Regions from separate parts of the Homo sapiens genome. Here region 2 is linked to region 1. The links are contacts of gene promoters, found by promoter capture Hi-C in blood cells and fetal thymus (Javierre and others, 2016). All regions are on one chromosome and are shown on one strand. Each heading gives the region's core, a stretch centred on a gene start or on the middle of the fragment in contact. The rest is flanking DNA. Distances are from core to core; before and after follow the strand shown. Region 1 holds the start of ZNF605 (zinc finger protein 605). Region 2 overlaps ZNF10 (zinc finger protein 10).

Evidence for each region. The method cuts DNA at HindIII sites, captures the fragments that hold promoters and counts their contacts. A CHiCAGO score of 5 or more calls a contact.
Region 2: a contact is called between a fragment that was not itself captured here and the fragment with the promoter of ZNF605 in region 1, in 9 of 17 cell types (M1 macrophages, M2 macrophages, naive CD8 T cells and 6 more). The highest score is 8.4, in M1 macrophages.

Annotation. Positions count from the first base shown.
Region 1 is chr12:132,954,139-132,961,078 of GRCh38, forward strand. ZNF605 (zinc finger protein 605) reads right to left here and starts at 2,168. Exons shown (of 5, transcript NM_183238.4): 1 at 2,105-2,168. It overlaps LOC124903064 (a long non-coding RNA gene), which reads left to right and starts at 2,411. Exons shown (of 2, transcript XR_007063552.1): 1 at 2,411-2,592. RefSeq lists enhancers at 886-1,716, 1,145-1,439, 1,717-2,545, 2,299-2,378 and a silencer at 1,799-2,138. The HindIII fragment of the contact is 12,358 bases long and covers 1,259-6,940 here.
Region 2 is chr12:133,150,925-133,158,001 of GRCh38, forward strand. ZNF10 (zinc finger protein 10) reads left to right here. Exons shown (of 5, transcript NM_015394.5): 3 at 104-230; 4 at 885-980; 5 at 4,579-7,077. The coding sequence ends at 6,044. Among named protein-coding and RNA genes, the nearest start is that of ZNF10, 24 kb to the left of the region's middle. RefSeq lists an enhancer at 4,285-5,484. The HindIII fragment of the contact is 4,637 bases long and covers 2,170-6,806 here.

The DNA.
Region 1 (6,940 bases), core at 918-3,417:
ACAGGCCAGGCAGAGTTATCCCTACAGGCCCAACTGATGACTGGACCTCAGTGACTCCCACAGGGCTTTTAAATACAGATGCCAGACACCATAATCACCAGCACCCCCAAAGCCCCACTTAAGAATCACCACAGACTGAAACCCCAAACTCTGAGTCCCAAAGGATCCCCACAGAACTCAGATACTCCTGCAGATGAGCTGGGGAGGGGAGGAGAAGGGTGGGGAGCGGGGGAGAAGGGGCTTCAGTCACTCCTGCAGGTGAGGTGGGGAGGGGATGAGAAGGATGGGGGAGGAGAAGGGTAGGGAGGGGAGGAGAAGGGTGGGGAGGGGAGGAGAAGGGGCTTCTGTCCTGGGACGAACACACTGGTCTCCATTCACTCACTTCATCAGGTGCCCAAGTCAGGCGCTCACAGAGCCCCTCCCCTGTAACTGACATTCTGAGGCTTGCGCCACAGACCCCCTAAATTAGACCCCAGTCACTCAATGCCCAGGGATCCCTAATCCCTTATCCCCGGGGCCCCCAAGCATTCGCCCCCATGACACCCCATTCTCTAATCCACTCCATGCTGGAGCATTCACTGACATTCCCACAGGCCCTCCCAAACACCACCTGGAAAGGGATTGTGGGGCTCTGCACAAATGCCGATCCCGCAGGCCCCTCCAATGACGCCAAGTATGACCCCCGTTGTCCACGCACTCACAACTTGCAACAGGTCCACCATTAACTTACATCCAGACTCCCTTGTCACAAATACACAGCGCCATTCCTAATGCTTCCATCATAAGATCCCCAAACACAAGCACAGAAACAAACCCCAGCCACTCGCCAGCATAGGCCACCCCATACTCGCCTCCGCTATTGGAGACAGGGGTTGAAAGAGCAACCACTGTTATTCAGCTGTCAAATAAAACATACAACTGGACAGAGCAAAGAAAGACGGTTCCAAAGGGTTATTGGAAGTGGGGAAAAAAAGACGCGGAAGAGGGTTGGGAAGGGGAAGGAGAACGGGCTTCTGGGAAGAACCGTGAAGCCACGAGACTCACGTGCATCTCTGCAAGGCAAAAAGGGTTTTTCTTTCACAGAGAGGTGTGAACAAGGTTAGCAAAGACCAGGCCTGGCCAAGCGAGGTGGAAGTGCGGGCGACCAGACAGCAGAGCGGGGAAAGCTTGACCCTGAGCCAGCCTGTTCTCAGGCGAGGCTGCGTGTTGGCTCAGGCTGGGGATGGGCCAAAGCTCAAGAAAATGGGGAAAGGAAAGAAGCTTAGCTAAAGTTTGCTTAAGGAGCATTTTGCTCCGACCGCTCGGTGGAGTTCAGCCAGTCACCGATGAGGCAAGCGACGGCAACGTGGCAGGTCTGTGTGAACAAGGGGCATCCTGGAGGCTGACCAAAGTCATATAGGGAACGGGAGATCTTTGCAGTGAGCCATTTGCTGGAACCCAAAAGGGTGGGAAATTCCTCAACCTTCGCTGTTTTCCAGGAGCACAGGGCTCTGGTGAAATCCAACACTGTCACAGCCGGCAGGCTTTCCAGTGAATGGAACCCACACAAGCAAGCCCCTAAGCCCTCCAACGCAGGCCCCCGCAGAAGCCTCATCATTCACCCCGCTGGCCTCCAATGCTCACCCAAAGGCATCCAAATCATTCATCAGCAGAGTCCTAATCGCTGCAGACAAATCCTCCACACGGCCTCCCAGGGGCCCCTCTCCCCTGGGGCCAAGGGCAACCTCGCGTCCCCTTGCCCCGCCCGTGCTGCACCCCAAGTCTACAGCGACCTCCATAGGCCCCCAGTGAATCGCCCAGCTGACCCCAAATCTCCCCCGACACCCACATTCAGCGCCCCGCCGCCGCCCGCCCTACAGCCCCCACCCCACCCTCTGCCTCCCACCCCCGCGCGCCCCCAGAGCCCCCGCCTGAGGCCCGCCTTCCGCGCATGCGCCCAGGCCGGTCCGCAGGCCTTTCTCGCCCCAGCCGGCAGCCAGCTCGTTCGCGCTGGGGTCACCGCGAGCCGGTCCGCAGCGGGGTCACCGCGATCCCCGGCGCAGACACAGAGGCCGCCCCCAGCCCCGCCGCCTCGTGGTCCCGCCCCCGCTGCACGCTCCCTTACCCCTCGGACCTCGCAGGGCCGCGGCGGACACGGCCCGATCGGGGACGTGAACGCGCAGAACTACATTTCCCAGCGTCCCGCTCGCGCTGGAACTACACTTCCCGGGGGGCTCGGCGGTGCACCCGCCGGGGTCGCGGATTGGAGGTTTCCGGTTGGAAAAGCCCCTTGGCGGCTAACTGGGGAGGACTGGAAGAAATCTAGGATGGAGCCAGCACTGCTGGCCCAACATGTCTGTGAGAGAACCTAAAGGCGCCTCCAGGAGGAAGCGTCTGCATCTTTTCCTTGTTTTTTTTTTTTTTTTTTTTGGAGGCAGGGTCTCGCTCTGTCACCCAGTGGGGAGTGCAGTGGTGCCATGAACGCTCATTGCAGCCTCAGGCTGGTCTCCGACTCCTGGGTTCAAATGATCCTCCTGCCCCAGCCTCCCAAAATGCTGGAATTACAGGCATGAGTCACTGCGTCCGGCTGCTTTTCCATTTTTCATCGTAGCTGTAAGTAATATCGGTAAATGTTAGTGTTACGTGCGTCCGTATAGGAGACCACCTGAGCAGGCTAAGTGTGAGCAACACGCCTGTTTATTCACTTGGGTGCAAGTGGGCTGAGTCTGAGAAAGGAGTCAGCGGAGGGTGGTGGGCTTGTCATTGGTTCTTATAGCTTTGGGATAGGATAGGCGGTGGAGTCAGCAGCAATTTTTTTTTTTTTTTTTTTTTTTGAGACAGAGTCTCACTCTGTCGCCGAGGCTGGAGTGCAGTGGCGCGATCTCGGCTCACTGCAAGCTCCGCCTCCCGGGTTCACGCCATTCTCCTGCCTCATCCTCCTGAGTAGCTGGGACTACAGGCACCCGCCACCACGCCCGGCTAATTTTTTTGTATTTTTAGTAGAGACGGGGTTTCACTGTGTTAGCCAGGATGGTCTTGATCTCCTGACCTCGTGATCCGCCCTCCTCGGCCTCCCAAAGTGCTGGGATTACGGGCGTGAGCCACCGCGCCCGGCCTCAGCAGCAATTTTTTGCGGGCAGGGGAGGATGTTACAAAGTACATTCACAAGGGCGGGGAGGGTGTATTGTCACAAGGGCGGAGAGGAATGTTACAAAGTACATTCACAAGGACCGGGAATATTACAAAGTACATTATCACAAGGGTGGGGGAATGTCACGATGGCTTGACCATGGTGCGGCCAGCTCAGAGGACCTTACATTTAGTACATCCAATCCAGCAGTATTGACAAAAGGAATGAAAATAGATGATAGGGTTGGGCGCGGTGGCTCACGGCTGTAATCCCAGCACTTTGGGAGGCTGAGGTGGGCGGATCACCAGGTCAGGAGATTGAGACCATCCTGGCCAACACGGTGAAACCCCGTCTCTACTAAAAATACAGAACATTAGCTGGGCGTGGTGGTGGGCGCCTGTAATCCCATCTACTCGGGAGGCTGAGGCAGGAGAATCACTTGAACTCGGGAGGCGGGGGTTGCGGTGAGCCATCATGCCGCTGCACTCTAGCCTGGCAACAGAGTGAGACCTCATCTCAAGAAAAAAAAAAGGAAAAATAAATGAGATGAGGACATTACAGGGAAATAAAATATATTTATGGATATATAAAGCAGTGGCTTGTCCCTGTAGTCCCAACTACTGGAGGCTGAGGCAGGAGGATTGCCTGAGCCTGGGAGGTTGAGGCTGCAGTGAGCTATGATGGCAACACTGCACTCCAGCCTGGGCCACAGAGGGAGACACCTTCTCTTAAAAATATTTTTTGGCCAGGCCAGGCGCGGTGGCTCACACCTGTAATCCCAGCACTTTGGGAGGCTAAGGCGGGCGGATCACCTGAGGTCAGGAGTTCGAGACCAGCCTGACCAACATGGTGAAACCCCATCTGTACTAAAAATATAAAAATTAGCCAGGTGTGGTGGCTCATGCCTGTAATGGCTCATACCTGTAATCCCACCTACTCAGGAGGTGGAGGCATGAGAATTGCTTGAACCCAGGAGGCAGAGGTTGCAGTGAGCTGAGATCTCACCACTGCACTCCACCCTGGGAGACAGAGTGAGATTCTGTCTAAAAAAAAAAAAAAAGAAAAAGAAAAACTGTAAAAGCATATTAGTTTTTTAAAATAAAAATGGGGAGAAACAGGAAACACACTCACAATTGGCAATTTAAAAAATTGAAATGGCCATAAAGACCAAATTAAAGTATATATGAAATAATATTTTGCTCAATTCTATATTAGTAAATTTGGAGCCTGTGAGAGATGGAGTTTTGCTCTTGTCGCCCAGGCTGGAGTGCAGTGGCACAATATCGGCTCACTGCAGCCTCCGCCTCCTGAGTTCAAGTGATTCTCCTGCCTCAGCCTCCCGAGTAGCTGGGATTGCAGGCGTGCGCCACCACGCCCGGCTAATTTTTGTATTTTTAGTAGAGACGTGGTTTCACCATGTTGGTCAGGCTGATCTTGATCTCTTAACCTCGTGATCCGCCTGCCTCGGCCTCCCGAAGTGCTGGGATTACAGGCGTGAGCCACTGCGCCCAGCCACTCCCAGCTACTTTTTGTATTTTTAGTAGAGATGGGTTTCACCATGTTGGCAAGGCTGGTCTCAAACTCCTGACCTCTGGTGATCCATGCGTCTCGGACTCCCAAAGTGCTGGGATTACAGACCTGAGCCACCGTACCCAGCCCACATTGCCCTGCTTCTAACTGAGATTCAACTTTATTTAAGCAAACCAATTCCATGCTCAACAGAGCTAAAATTAAAATTCTGCTTTAAGGTAGTTTTGTTTTTGTTCTCAGAAAATTTTGCTGTTCACAGATTTATGATTTTCACTTTTCTCCGAGGTTAAGCGTGTCATTTATTAAATGACTTACTAGAATTTATACGCCTTTTTTTTTTTTTTTTTTTTGAGATGGAGTCTTGCTCTGTCACCCAGGCTGGAGTGCAGTGGCGCGATCTCAGTTCACTGCTACCTCTGCCTCCTGGGTTGAAGCAATTCTCCCGCCTCTGCCCCCCGAGTAGCTGGGATTACAGGCACCCACCATCATGCCTGGCTAATTTTTTGTATTTTTGTAGAGACGAGGCTTCACCATGTTGGCCAGGCTGGTGTCGAACTCATGACCTCAGGTGATCCGCCTGTCTTGGCCTCCCAAAGTGCTGGGATTACAGGCATGAGCCACTGAGCATGGCCATGGCCTTTTCTTTCATTCCAATTTTGGTCAGGAAAGAAAACAGTTTCTCTCTCTAAAAAAAAATTCCATGGCTTAAGTAAAACTTGTAAGTTTAAAAAAAAAAAAAACTGGCTAAACTCTTAAGTTCAGTTCATTTGGCACATCTGAAGTCCCATTTTAAATGACCAAAGCCAGTAAAAAAAACTTTGTATAAAGACAGAGATAAGTCTTAAAGATAAGACACTCTTTCTCCCAGCCACAAGATAATTTAGTGACTTAGGTTTTGTGAAACTTTAAGCTCATCGTTCATGACATACGTTGGACCCATAAGACTCCCCTCAACAAAAAAAATACAAAAATCTCCTAGTGCCCTAAGTGCCCAAAATTACTGGGTTTCACCAAGACATCTATTGAAAAGTGACTCTTCAATAAATAATCCTTATTAAGCAGCATACCAGATCCAACAACTCTTTCCCTTTCAGTCTTTGATCTTTAAAACAAAAACCCCAAATTATGGACATTCATCCATCTAAAACTGAGTCTTTCCCCTTCAAAAGAAATACACCTTTAATGGCTGGATGCAGTGCCTCACGCCGGTAATCTCAGTGCTTTGGGAGGCTGAGGTGGGTGGAGCACAAGGTCAGGAGTTCGAGACCAGCCTGTCCAACATGGTGAAACCCCGTCTCTACTAAAAATACAAAAATTAGCTGGGCATGGTGGCCGGCGCCTGTAATCCCAGCTACTTGGGAGTCTGAGGCAAGAGAATTGCTTGAAACAGAAAGGTGGAGGTTGCAGTGAGCTGAAATTGTGCCACCGTATTCCAGTCTGGGCAAAAGAGCGAAACTCCATCTCAAAAAAAAAAATATATATATACCTTTAAGTAACTCCAGCTAAATTCATATATAGTACTTATGATGCGACCTCCTGTCAATATCTTTTAAAATGGTCTTATTTAACCCATAAAGACCCCAAACTACAAAGACCAAAATGAAATGACATTAAAAATACCTTAATTAGTTTATTTACGTGCATAATTTTTAAAAACTGAGTCTAAAATTTTTAAAAAATTGAAAGTTACTTTCAATAATACTAAAAAGCATCTAAAAGAGACTGAAAATTTCTTTCCCTACAGAAAAAATTAAACTCTTTAGAACTATTGATATATTAAAAAAGGAAACTGCCAAAACTTCTCACCCTTCTGCTTCTGCATCTCTTTATCCCTCCTTCTCCAAACTGCCTTGCCAAGACTTGACTTCTTTTTTCCTCCTCCCCATACAATCACTTATCTTTTGTAAATTAATATGTATTAATGTGGAGTCCTAATTAGGGAAAAAGAGACAGGGTAGTGGGAGCAGGGGAAAGCAAAATACGAAATAAGAGAAAGCAGATAAGCTGTAAGTCTGCCTTTCTTAATGGTCCAGGACACAGAGCTGTCATAACTCACAATCTTCCTGTGGCCAGCTATCACCAGATCCTCGGCTGATACAAAAAATGCACGTCAGCTTCCTGCAACCTTGGTGTTGTCAGAACTGAACGTAGCACTCTGCAGCCCAAGAACCACCTATTACATCTCCAGGAAACCTTTGTTTCCTTGCAGTCAGTTCCTCTCTTGCTGGCTGCCTGTTACCTTCTTGAAAGTATTTTCCTACTTTCTCTAATAAATCTGCCTATCTTGGTAAATTTTTTTTT
Region 2 (7,077 bases), core at 3,238-5,737, 200 kb after region 1:
TGCCCCAGTGCTGTCAGCTTAATTTCTCTTCCTGTTAGCGATCAGGAAAGGGGGATAGCAAAGATGCATATCTGGTGCAATGCAAATGTGTTTGATGTTGTAGACACTGGTGACCTTCAAGGATGTATTTGTGGACTTCACCAGGGAGGAGTGGAAGCTGCTGGACACTGCTCAGCAGATCGTGTACAGAAATGTGATGCTGGAGAACTATAAGAACCTGGTTTCCTTGGGTAAGACTAGCTCTGTTTTTGAAGATTTTGGTTCTCCATTGATCAAAAGGTACAGAGACCCTGAAGCATGTATCACACCAGAGTATAGGCTTGGCGTTCAGAGACCTAATTTCTTTGAGGCATAGAACAGGGTTTTTTTACTCCAGCTTTTGTGGAAAACTTGTTTTAATGTATTGAAGTTTTAAAAATGCCTCTTTAAGGAGTTTTCTGGCTGGGCATGGTGGCTCACGCCTGTAATTCCAGCACTTTGGGAGGCCGAGGTGAGCAGATCACAAGGTCAAGAGATTGAGACCATCCTGACCAACATGGTGAAACCCCGTCTCTACTAAAAATACAAAAATTAGCTGGGCGTGGTGGCGTGCTCCTATAGTCCCAGCTACTTGGGAGGCTGAGGCAGGAGAATCACTTGAACCCCGGAAGTGGAGGTTGCAGTGAGCCAAGATTATGCCACTGCACTCCAGCCTGGCAACAGAGAGAGACTCCATCTCAAAATAAATAAATAAAATAAAATAAGTTTTCCTGCCTCTGTCAACTTTAGAGTCCCTGCCAGTCCTGCAGAGGGTTGGTGGTCAGGTTGAATCTGAGATGTTTCTTCGTGCCTACCTCAGAGCTCCCCTGACTCTTACCCTGTTCTTTGTCTTTCACTGTGAACAGGTTATCAGCTTACTAAGCCAGATGTGATCCTCCGGTTGGAGAAGGGAGAAGAGCCCTGGCTGGTGGAGAGAGAAATTCACCAAGAGACCCATCCTGGTGAGGACCAGTCAAGAGTTGTCATAGGCAGCAGCCCAGATGGGCTGTGAGGTGCCAGAACTTCTAGAGATAGTGGTCACTGGCCCTCCTCACAGGCCCTTCTTCCTGGGAAGACTGAGTTTATCTGGCCCCTGTTTCCCCACTGCCAGTCTTTACATTCCATTTGCATTCAGAGGCAAAGGTTTCTCTGTCTGTTGACGTGCTTGGTTTCAGCGCTTGCACGTGTCGCTCTCCTAATTGTTACCACTCACTCTAGCATCTTGTGCTTTCGTTTGTCATAGAATCACTTCTTGCATTTTTGCCTCTCTTTGTTCTTTCATGTGACCCCTTCCCACAACTCAGTTCTCTGTGCAAGCTCTGGAGTGGGACTCTTATCACCTTCTTTTCTGAGAGTTTGTTTTCTGCCAGGTAGAAAACTGCTGCAGAGAGCTCATAATTCCTGTTGCCTCAACTCTCCTTCCTTTCCAGAATGGCTGCTCACAGAAACACCAGTTTTTCCTACTGTACTTTAGATCTTTTTTTCTTTTCGAGATGGAGTTTCACTCAGTCTCCCAGGCTGGAGTGTAGTGGCGCGATCTAGGCTCACTGCAACCTCCGCCTCCCAGGTTTAAGCGATTCTTCCGCCTTAGCCTCCCAAAGAACCAGGAATTACAGGCATGCACCACCACGCCCAGCTAATTTTTGTATTTTTAGGAGAGATAGGGTTTTACCATGTTGGCTAGGCTGGTCTCGAACTCCTGACCTCAAGTGATCCGCCCACCTCGGCCTTCCAAAGTGCTGGGATTACAGGCGTGAGCCACCATGCCCAGCCTCTATCTAGTTTTGTATTTAATGTTTTAAAAATTTATTTATAGGCATTTCCCTGCATCTCAGACTTTGAGTGTGATGTAAATTAAATCTGAGTCTTACTTGTCCTGTAATTTAGCCTCAAGTTCTTTCCCATGAAGGCTTTTATGATTCCTCATTAAGTATTGGCCTCTTCCTCTTCTGAACTTCCACTTAGTTTAAATCTCTACTTTGAAATATTATCATAAGCTCTTTTTTACTTTTTAGTATTTGCCTTGTAGGTGATTGTATCAAAATGGTATCTCAAAGCAAGTCTTTCTTTGGGACCATGGGAGGAAATATTGTTATATTTTCTTTTTATTACTTACCTTCTTTCTTTCTTTTCTATTTTGTTCATCTAGTAAGCTTTCCTGAATGTCTGTTGACAAGTATCCAAAAATAACAATTATTAACTGGACCCAGCAGTTTATATTTTTATTGAGAATTTATTGTCAAAAGAAATACTCAGACTTCATGGGCTTAAAGGCATGGAGTTTTACAGAATCTACAAGGCTGTTAAATTCATTATCAAATCAAAAAATATAATGAATGATGATTTTTAAAAATCAGATGATTAGTTGATTGATGGGTCCAACAGACTTCGACAATAACTTACTGGCATGGTTGTATTACATAATATGTGGAAGATTTTAGGATATTAATAAAACACCTCATTCTTATGACCAAACTCTCCACTCAGAATTGTCCTCCATAAGTGCTCAGCACCCCCCTTATCATAGATATTCTTCATAGAATCTTCCAGTTGGCATTTGTAGGTTGAAAAACTTCTCCATAAGATTTTCTGATGTTCTGGGTTGGGGAAAGGGAGGAAAGGGTGGTGTATTTCCTATTAAAAATCATCAGGATGGGGAAGAAACTAGGAACTAACTAAGTGGTAAGGGACAGGACTGGTCGGGGTGGGATTGTATAAGGAAGTCATTTAGGGACCAGGCCTGGCACAGGGATCATTTACCAGGTGTATTAGTTTCCTGGGGCTGCGGTAACAAAGAACCAGCAGTTAGGTGGCTCAAAACAACCAAAATGTATCATGTCACAGCTGGAGGCTGTTAAGTCTAAAATGAAGATGTCAGTGGGGCTCTGCTACGCTTCTAGGAGAGGGTCTTTCCTTATCTCTTCCAGGCTCTGCTGGCCCCAGGTGTTCCTTGGCTTGTGGATATATCATTCCAGTCTTGGTCTCCATGTTCACATGGTCTCTTCCCCTGTGTCTGTGTCTTTTTTATGGAGGACCACCCTCATACTGGATTAGGGGCCCATCCTATTTCTGGTACTACCTCATCATAACTAATTACATCTGGAAAGACTGTATTTCCAAATATGGTCATATTCTGAGATACTGAGGATTAAAACTTCAACATACCTTTTTGTCGGCGGGGGGGATACAGTTTAACCCATAATACCAGGTAAGAGTGGAATGTCACCCCACTTATGTAAGATGAAGTGGTATCATCAGTGTATTTTTTAGGTTTGGGATTATATGTTTTACCTGAAAGACATTGAGAAACAGATAAAGCTCTTATTCAAGAGAAATAATTTGCAGTAATATACACAGGTAGCAGATGGCAGAAATTCTAAGAGCGTATGGGTCAGGCTTCAGATTCTAAGTTCACATCTTGTGGTAGTAGTCCTATCAGTTGTTAAGTCCTTATGTTTCAGAGCGAAGAAATCAAAAAAATGAGAAGAATGATGATGATTATTGTAAATCTTATTGCTTTGACCATAAATGTGCCAGAGACTGTAATAGGCTCATGCTTTATATAATATAATAATCTTAAATAACAAATACTGTCATCCTTAGATTACAGATAAGCAAAATGAATTCTTCAAAGTTTAGCAACTCGTCTAAATTCACCACTAGTCGTAATATAAAACTTAGAACTTGCATCTTGGTAACTTTTGTGCAGTTACTCTTCCACCTTGTCATGTAGCTGCTCTGAGAGGTCTGTTGTGTCACTCATCTGGGTGTTATTCTATAGTGCTTCTGTGATTTGGATAGAAAGCATTGCCTGACGTATGGCTGCATTCATGGTTTAAGAATACTAAATTGGGCCGGACGCACTGGCTCACGCCTATAATCCCAGCACTTTGGGAGGCTAAGGCGGGTGGATCACCTGAAGTCAGGAGTTCAAGACCAGCCTGGCCAACATAGTGAAACCCTGTCTCTGCTAAAAATATTAAAAATTAACCAGGCATGGTGGCAGGTGCCTGTAATCCCAGCTACTTGGGAGGCTGAGGCAGGAGAATCATTTGAACCTGGGAGGCGGAGGTTGCATTGAGCCAAGATTGTGTCATTGCACTCCAGCCTGGACAACAAGAGCGAAACTGTCTCAAAAAAAAAAAAAAGAGAGAGAATACTAAATTGATAGTAATGTGAAGAATGTGTGTCAGGGGAAAGTCCTGACAACAAGTAGACAGGTGAGGAACTTAGACTGTTAATATCTGGATTAGAAAATGAGAGTGCAGTCCTTTTTATGGAATTTCCCTTATTTCTACCCTCACCATTGATACCCTGATCCCATGTGTCATGCTGTGTCCTGTGGCTTCTCCTTACTCCTTTTGCCCTTTGTGAGTACTGTATACCACAATGCATTTATTGTTTACCGCTCCATTCTTCCTTTTCTCATTCTCTATCAAAGTTATAAAGCCATATTTGAAAGCAACTGTGTACATCTTGCATACTTTGTCTCCACATACATCCTAGCATTCTCACCTTAATACTCTGTTTAGTTACACAAACATTTTTCATTTCTTTCAGATTCAGAGACTGCATTTGAAATCAAATCATCAGTTTCCAGCAGGAGCATTTTTAAAGATAAGCAATCCTGTGACATTAAAATGGAAGGAATGGCAAGGAATGATCTCTGGTATTTGTCATTAGAAGAAGTCTGGAAATGTAGAGACCAGTTAGACAAGTATCAGGAAAACCCAGAGAGACATTTGAGGCAAGTGGCATTCACCCAAAAGAAAGTACTTACTCAGGAGAGAGTCTCTGAAAGTGGTAAATATGGGGGAAACTGTCTTCTTCCTGCTCAGCTAGTACTGAGAGAGTATTTCCATAAACGTGACTCACATACTAAAAGTTTAAAACATGATTTAGTTCTTAATGGTCATCAGGACAGTTGTGCAAGTAACAGTAATGAATGTGGTCAAACTTTCTGTCAAAACATTCACCTTATTCAGTTTGCAAGAACTCACACAGGTGATAAATCCTACAAATGCCCTGATAATGACAACTCTCTTACTCATGGTTCATCTCTTGGTATATCAAAGGGCATACATAGAGAGAAACCCTATGAATGTAAGGAATGTGGAAAATTCTTCAGCTGGCGCTCTAATCTTACTAGGCATCAGCTTATTCATACTGGAGAAAAACCCTATGAGTGTAAAGAATGTGGAAAGTCTTTCAGCCGGAGTTCTCACCTCATTGGACATCAAAAGACCCATACTGGTGAGGAACCCTATGAATGTAAAGAATGTGGAAAATCCTTCAGCTGGTTCTCTCACCTTGTTACTCATCAGAGAACTCATACAGGAGACAAACTGTACACATGTAATCAGTGTGGGAAATCTTTTGTTCATAGCTCTAGGCTTATTAGACACCAGAGGACACATACTGGAGAGAAACCCTATGAATGTCCTGAATGTGGGAAATCTTTCAGACAGAGCACACATCTCATTCTGCATCAGAGAACCCATGTGAGAGTGAGGCCCTATGAATGCAATGAATGTGGAAAGTCTTACAGCCAGAGATCTCACCTTGTTGTGCATCATAGAATTCACACTGGACTAAAACCTTTTGAGTGTAAGGATTGTGGAAAATGTTTTAGTCGAAGCTCTCACCTTTATTCACATCAAAGAACCCACACTGGAGAGAAACCATATGAGTGTCATGATTGTGGAAAATCTTTCAGCCAGAGTTCTGCCCTTATTGTGCATCAGAGGATACACACTGGAGAGAAACCATATGAATGCTGTCAGTGTGGGAAAGCCTTCATCCGGAAGAATGACCTCATTAAGCACCAGAGAATTCATGTTGGAGAAGAGACCTATAAATGTAATCAATGTGGCATTATCTTCAGCCAGAACTCTCCATTTATAGTTCATCAAATAGCTCACACTGGAGAGCAGTTCTTAACATGCAATCAATGTGGGACAGCGCTTGTTAATACCTCTAACCTTATTGGATACCAGACAAATCATATTAGAGAAAATGCTTACTAATAAATATGGGAATTTTTCACAAAGAGCAATGACTTTATTTTGCATTGGAGAACTCCTGGAGATAAGCTGTACAAATTGAATCTATGTGGAAATGCTTTCAGTCTTGTTACTATCCTATTGCACATTAGAGAATTGGTCCTGGAAGGGAAAGAAACCACAGATTTTATTTCAGTACACAAATCCATCAGATTTTCTTCTTTTCATGAATTCCTACAGAAGTAATTGGCCTGAGAGCATTCTTGACCAAGTCTTAAATGCTAGAATCTGAGAAGGAATTATTAAATAGGTGAGTTGTTGAGCGAGAACCCCTTCATTTGAAAAGAAATGAGTATGCTACTATAGGGAGAGTTGTTGCTGAGAATTAAGAAATGATACAGTTAATGCAACAAAAGATGGAAAATAATATTTCAGTCAATATGTCATTGTTTTCTTGACTATGTCTCTCTTCTGGGACATTTAGTAGTGTTTGGTATGTTTTATGTGTCTGGTAGAAACCATATTTTGGTTAACAGCAAGAAAAATGCTTATAATGTAGTACAATTAAAAACAACACATCTCCACTACCAGTGCTAACCCATTTTTAAGTACATTTGCATGTGGGCAAGAATTGAAAGTATACAGATAATTGAACAGAATTGATTTGTTAGATAAGGAGATTTTGACTGAGTTTTATAGTCTGTTTAATGTTGCTGTAATAATTATTTTAAGAAACTTTTAAATATTGTAAGAGGATATCTAGTTTCTCTATTCTACCATCAAAGAAGCTTTTGAGTACCACCTGTTAATGAGCTTTCCTATTCTAAATTGTTTTGGGTCACAGAGTTCCACTTTTTCCACTCTTATTAGCACTGCAAAAGCTCCTGAGAATTTAAAAACACAGTAATTCTCTGGATGTTAGGACCTAGGGGAACATTGGGCATTTGAACATATCAGGGAGGGTCCCCATTTTAGTGGGAACAAGTATTTAAACAATATTTAGAGCAAGTGTCCTCATGTGATAAACAGAGCACAGTCCAAAGATACCCTCTTTCTC